2 separate regions of the Homo sapiens genome follow, and region 2 is linked to region 1. Evidence: promoter capture Hi-C in 16 types of primary human blood cells and fetal thymus (Javierre and others, 2016). All regions are on one chromosome and are shown on one strand. Each heading gives the region's core, a stretch centred on a gene start or on the middle of the fragment in contact. The rest is flanking DNA. Distances are from core to core; before and after follow the strand shown. Region 1 holds the start of IFNAR1 (interferon alpha and beta receptor subunit 1). Region 2 overlaps PAXBP1-AS1 (PAXBP1 antisense RNA 1).

Region 1 (3,314 bases), core at 356-2,855:
ATGGCTATAGAGATGGCATATATATATGGCATATAGAGATGGCATATAGAGATGGCATATAGAGATGGCATATAGAGATGGCATATAGAGATGGCATATAGAGATGGCATATAGAGATGGCATATAGAGATGGAATATAGAGATGGAATATATATGGCATATAGAGATGGAATATATATGGCATATAGAGATGGAATATATATGGCATATAGAGATGGCATATAGAGATGGAATATAGAGATGGAATATAGAGATGGAATAGATATGGAATATAGAGATGGAATAGATATGGAATATAGAGATGGAATAGAGATGGAATATAGAGATGGAATATAGAGATGGGATATAGAGATGGGATATAGAGATGGGATATAGAGATGGGATATAGAGATGGGATATAGAGATGGGATATAGTGATGGAATATAGAGATGGGATATAGAGATGGAATAGATATGGAATATAGAGATGGAATAGATATGGAATATAGAGATGGAATAGATATGGAATATAGAGATGGAATATAGAGATGGGATATAGAGATGGGATATAGAGATGGAATATAGAGATGGGATATAGAGATGGAATATAGAGATGGGATATAGAGATGGAATATAGTGATGGGATATAGAGATGGAATATATAGATGGAATATAGAGATGGAATATATAGATGGAATACATATATATTCCATTGCATTGTTCTTTACAAACATTCATTTAATTATGTAATTGCTAATTAATTGCTTGGTTGTTATAACAACGAAGTATTTGATTCCTTATTTTATCTCATCATTTAAATTTTATTTCGCATATTTTCACAATGCACTGGATCTATTACTGAGGAATTTAATTAAATAATCATTCGAACCATGGGCTCGAATTGTTTACTGATAAAGCCCGACGACCAAAACAGCCTAGCGACTGCTGTTTGGAGCCCCTCGGCCCAGGGCCCGTGGCTGTTCTCTCCAAGGGACCATCTCGCCCCTCAGCCAAGTCGCCCGGAAAACGAGCGCTCGACCGCCTCTGCCCCGCTCTCGCTCTGCACACAGCAACGGTCTGGTCGCTCAGCCACTTCCTCCTTCCAGCCTCATCTGGTTCCCAGGCCGCTGGGGACTCCCAACGCCACTGTCCAAGACTCTAGGGTCAGCAAGCGCCCCGGGCGGAGAAGGGCGAGGACGAAGAGCGCCGGGCCGCGACCAGGAGCCCACCCGCGCCCTCCGACTGCAGACATGGGGAAGAGACGCGGGAACTCCAAAGTCGCTGGGTCTGCGCAGGTGTGTGCCGCGATCCTGTGAAGGTCAAGGCCTCCTGTGAGGGGGAGTCGTCCTGGAATGCGATGGTGAAGTGCTCCAGACCGGCCATAGGCCGGAAAGAGTGAGGAAGAAGAGAATGCAGGAGGCCTGCGATTTCTAAGGCGCGCGCGCACAGGGGTGCTGCAATTAGGATGGGGCAATGGGAGCTTGGAGAAGGGGTGCTAGCTAGGAGGAAAGGCGCGTGCGTGGAGGAACGGCGCGTGCGCGGAGGGGCGGTGTGTGTGTCAGAAGAGGCGGCGCGTGCGTAGAGGGGCGGTGAGAGCTAAGAGGGGCAGCGCGTGTGCAGAGGGGCGGTGTGACTTAGGACGGGGCGATGGCGGCTGAGAGGAGCTGCGCGTGCGCGAACATGTAACTGGTGGGATCTGCGGCGGCTCCCAGATGATGGTCGTCCTCCTGGGCGCGACGACCCTAGTGCTCGTCGCCGTGGCGCCATGGGTGTTGTCCGCAGCCGCAGGTGAGAGGCGGGGAGGAGAGTCTTGGCGCAGGGCGGGAGGTAGGGCACGCAGCTGGGCTACGGGGGCGGCGATGCTGTTGGGGGCGACAGACGCCCAGTCTGGGAAACCTTCGGTCCACTTTGCCGCGCCAAAGATTAAACCCGACCTGGGCTCGCAAATCAACCAGGAGAAAGTGGTGTTCTGGGTCCTCTCTTGCCGCTTGCCTGTGGCCGTGTACGGGTCCTCGGGAGCGCCCGGGTCCCACCCCCGTGAAATGGCGGTGCCAGAGCTTTGTGTCGAGTTTGATTCTTTCCGGGAAAGTACCGCGGCTCCGCTGGTCTGTTTGATAATAAACAAAACATTTCCCGAAATGCATTTCCTCAATCTGGTGAATAGGCGCCCAGTCCCACGGGGGAGTGAGCTAAGTGTGGCCAGGATTTCTCTGCCCTCAGGATTCATACAGGCCAATAAAAAATGACAGTCGGAGTGACTGAAGCATAATTGTCAGTTCTCGAGGTTTACTAAGCCTGCTTCAGGGCGCATCCGGGAAAAACGTGAGCCACAAACACGTCTGTGACTGGTTTTCCAGAGGTTTTCAGGAGGTGGGGCAGGAAGGCAGTAAGGCAAATAGTTCTGTGAGAATTTAGTTAGTGCCCAAGAAATCTGTATTTTAAGATACCATGAGTGTCTTGAAGAGAAAAAGAGAGTAAAGGGAGTCAGTTATGCAGATGCCTCTGGGTAGATGGAGTCTTGACTTTGTTTTGCACCTGAGAAGATAAGCTTGTAATTGACATGGTCAGTGTGGAAGGCCTGAACTAGTTTTTCAGATTAACTTTGGAATGCCATTTGTTGAGAGGAGAGGTCCATTCACATTGTTGGGGGGCTTAGAATTTTATTTTTGGTTTACTTAACTACCTACTTTTTTCCCAAAGAAATAATCATGTTCAAAACTCAATGAAATGTTATCTCAATGAGATTGTAATGTTGCTCAGTCTTTCAGAAGTCATAAAAATAGTCATACTTTTTAAACTAGTAAATGCAATTCTAGGACCCAAGACTAAGAAAACTGTCCAAAATATGGGAAGACATTTTTATTTATACTTTTTTTTTTTTTTTTTTGAGACAGCCTGTTGCCCAGGCTGGTGTGCAGAGGCGTGATCTCAGCTCACTGCAACCTCTGCCTCCCAGGTTCAGGCGATTCTCCTGCCTCAGCCTCTTGAGTAGCTGGAATTACAGGTGCACGCCACCACATCCGGCTATTTTTTGTATTTCTAGTAGAGATGGGGTTTTGCCATGTTGGCCAGGCTGGTCTCGAACTCCTGACCTCAAACAATCCACTTCAGCCTCCCAAAGTGCTGGGATTACAGGTGTGAGCCACCACGCCCGATCTATTTATGTTTTAGACTTTAGTTTTAGGAACTAGACTTAGGTTGTAGACCTGAAGTTACAGTTGGCATCCCCTTGTTTATGGGAGACCAGCAAAGAATTGACTTATGAATGATCTGTCAGGGTAGCCCTTCGCAGATGGCTGAGTCTTTTTATCCTTCCTTGGGGATTTGGCTGAAGC
Region 2 (3,314 bases), core at 115-2,614, 600 kb before region 1:
CCGAGCCAACCAGGTGGCGCCTGAAGAGCTGTCCATGGTGTCGACAGCCCAGCAAACGGCACCGAGTTCCTAGTCTGAGTGTCTGGATAGGTAGCAGAAGAAAAACTAATGCCTGCTCTGGGACAGTTCTGTTCGGTGCCTTTTCTTGTGTGTTCTGGAGCTCACAGGGTTCTATCGAAGAGTGCTTAGGTGTATACGATGGAGAGTGGGACGTCACAAACCAGGATCTCAAGGCTGAGTCCAACAAAACATGGCCGTAGGGAGGCCACGACAGCTGTGGTTGTCACCGACGGATGAATAGCTTTTGCCAACCGTGGAATTTAGTAACTAAAGGCACCTAACCCTTTTATCTCATCCTCATTTTTCAACAAATGGTGCTTCCTGGCTAATATCAGCGTGTCCCATAGATTTCTGCTTCCATTGAATAGACCTAATAAGAAAGAGAATGAAGTCAAAGCCAACAGGGCAGAAAGAAATTGAAAACCTGAAGAACCCAGCACTCAAACTGTCTCCACTTGCGTTTGCTTTTTCTTTACCTCTTCTCCTTCTGGTTTTCAACAGCCAAAGCAGGATTTAAATTTGGTTATGTTGCAAAAATCATTTCCCTCTTCAGGCCCTGTCATGTGACTTGATTTTTTCGTCCATTTTAGAGAAGCTGTACCCACCCTGGTTTCAGGACACGGAACTAAATTTATTAGAAAAGAAGCCACTTCAAGTCATGAAGGAGAAACACAAAGATTCTTGGATTTAGTTCTAAGAACTAGAGGGGATTTCTATGTCAGTACTGTCTCAGAAAAAACTGTTGATATCAAATGTGTTGCTTGAGAAGTACCTTTTTTTTTTTGAGACGGAGTCTCGCTCTGTCCGCCCAGGCTAGAGTGCAGTGGCGCGATCTCGGCTCACTGCAAGCTCCGCCTCCCGGGTTCACGCCGTTCTCCTGCCTCAGCCTCCCGAGTAGCTGGGATTACAGGTGCCCACCACCACGCCCGGCTAATTTTTGTATTTTTAGTAGAGACAGGGTTTCACCGTGTTAGCCAGGATGGTCTCGATCTCCTGACCTCGTGATCCACCCGCCTCGGCCTCCCAAAGTGCTGGGATAACAGGCGTGAGCCATCGCGCCCGGCCGAGAGGTACCTTTTATGACAACTGAAATCATTCAGTTTCAAGAGGAGTTGGGTACTGAAACCAAACTTGCTTACTCCAAAGCCCAAAATCCTTTCCACCATGCCTGTGTGTCTGTAAGGCTACACTAGAAATGCTTCCTTTCTTATAGTGGGAAGCATGGGTACTAAGCTCTTTTACGAACAAGTGTTCTGCATATTCCTGGTTCCTTTTTATTTTGGACTGAGGAGATTTAGGTCAAAATTTCTGGGTTCTGGGTTGGAATTCCAGCTTCTTTCTTCAAATTAAACTGGGGGGTAGCAAGACTTATTCCTAGATTTGTTAGAAGGCCACAGCTTTTCCACATCTCATTTTAGTCATGAAAAAGACACATGCCCAGAGTTTGAAAAACATAAAGGCAATTTGACTAGTGGCTTGATTGGTTCTATCTTCTTTTTCTTGTCCCTCTTTCCTATTTATACTTCTACTTTTGTTACAGCATTTGACAATAGTTGGAAAAATTTTCACTGACCTTGAAATGTCTTTGGGATAGGGTGACTTAAAATATAGGTTAAGTGGCATACACAAACTTCTTAGTGAGATCCTAAGGGCCTACAGAGACAGGCTGACACCAACTCAACCCTTGAAACTGTGCAATGAAGAGCCTGTGGGAGGCTAAAAAACGCTACTTCAAAAAGAGATCCTTGTCTGTGAATGTTAATTTAGGTTTACAGATTTGATTAAGGGTCTTGAGATTATTTTCAATTATCCAGGTGGGCCCTAGAGCCCTAGATGCAATCATAAGTGTCCTTATAACAGGGAGGCAGAGGAAAATTAAACACGCACACAGGAGAGAGAGAGAGAGAAAAAAAAGTGATGTGAAGACAGCAGCAGAGATTGGAGCGATGTGGCCATAGCCAAGCTATGTCAGCAGCCATCAGAAGTTGGAAGAGGCAAGGAAGGATTTGAGCCTAGAGCCTTTGGAAGGAGCATGGCCCTGTTGGTTCTGGCCTCCAGAACTGCAAGAAAATACATTTTTGTTGTTTTAAACCACCCAGTTCATGGTAATTTGTAACACCAGCTACAAGAAATTAACACAAGGCTGATGTGACTTTCCATCAGGAGAGAGACAGCCCCAGGTAGGTGTTTCAGATATCACATCCAATAGAACAAATTAAAGACAAACACCCTAAATTCTAGATGTTGATTTGTGAGCAAGTTATTTCTCCTATGGGCAACTCTAGTTGAAATATGCAATTCATTATGTTGAAACATGGAATTGTTATTTTCATAGGTTAAAAAAAAATCACATAGTGGCAATATAGTAGTAGTGCTCGTTTTTTGTTTTTTGTTTTTTTGTCAAAAATGCTAGACAACATGGAAGATCAGGGAAATATTAACAGTCTGATTCAGTAACCTTTAACAGCTTCTTTTCAGGTTACACAGGCTAAGCTAACTTTTATATCAGGATCAGGATCTGCAGAGTTATTAGTATAGTGCTCTGCAGATCCTGGTCCTAGTATAGCAGGATCTGCAGACCCTAGTTGTACCTGGCCATGTTCCCCACCAATGACTGAGAAAGAAATGGCTCGAACAGAAAACAGTGGTCTTGAAAGGCAACGCAACAGTAGGTTACAAATAGCATTAGCTTTTTCTTTAAAGAAATTCATTGTAACCAGTGAAGGATAAGATTTTAAATTAGAAAAATGGAAATCCTATGAATAAAAAACTAGTAAGCTTGAGAGCAGAATCACTGTGGAAAAAAAACAGATTGAAAAATAACTTGCAGGTATCATAGACAGGAAATTGCCACTAGAGAAAACAGGAAACTTGTGATAGATAAAAATGAAGTATTTTCATTTGGAACAAGAGACCAACTGAAGAGAGATCAAGTGAAGGGGGTTTATTTTAATGAAACACAAAGATTCTTGTGGAAATCAAAGTGCCGGAGCCAGAAACAGGGCTCAACCTTCAAGATTAGAGCTGTATTCAAGTTGTTCAAGTTGGCTCTCGGTCCCAAAGCAACAGCAATGTCACTAAGGTTACAAGTAAAAGGTAAGCTTTCATGATCAAAATGTTTTTGCAAAGTAGCTTAAAATGGTTTCTGCAGTGTTTTGTCAAAACTTTTCTCATACATTTTCCTAAAGATATTTAGCAAGAGCCTAAGAAGTCATGTGCTAGGGATTTTCATTGTACTGAATGATTGTATCCTT

What was found. The method cuts DNA at HindIII sites, captures the fragments that hold promoters and counts their contacts. A CHiCAGO score of 5 or more calls a contact.
Region 2: a fragment that was not itself captured here is called in contact with the fragment with the promoter of IFNAR1 in region 1 in 1 of 17 cell types (fetal thymus); the score reaches 5.4 in fetal thymus.

The regions. Positions count from the first base shown.
Region 1 is chr21:33,323,365-33,326,678 of GRCh38, forward strand. It overlaps IFNAR1 (interferon alpha and beta receptor subunit 1), which reads left to right and starts at 1,606. Exons shown (of 11, transcript NM_000629.3): 1 at 1,606-1,767. The coding sequence starts at 1,692. RefSeq lists promoters at 310-1,593, 947-1,617, enhancers at 630-1,532, 820-1,029, 1,250-1,299, 1,533-2,434 and cis regulatory regions at 1,038, 1,529-1,538, 1,595. The HindIII fragment of the contact is 6,325 bases long and covers 1-2,525 here.
Region 2 is chr21:32,728,422-32,731,735 of GRCh38, forward strand. It overlaps PAXBP1-AS1 (PAXBP1 antisense RNA 1), which reads left to right. Exons shown (of 4, transcript NR_038879.1): 1 at 1-2,240. Among named protein-coding and RNA genes, the nearest start is that of PAXBP1-AS1, 2.0 kb to the left of the region's middle. The HindIII fragment of the contact is 2,944 bases long and covers 1-2,836 here.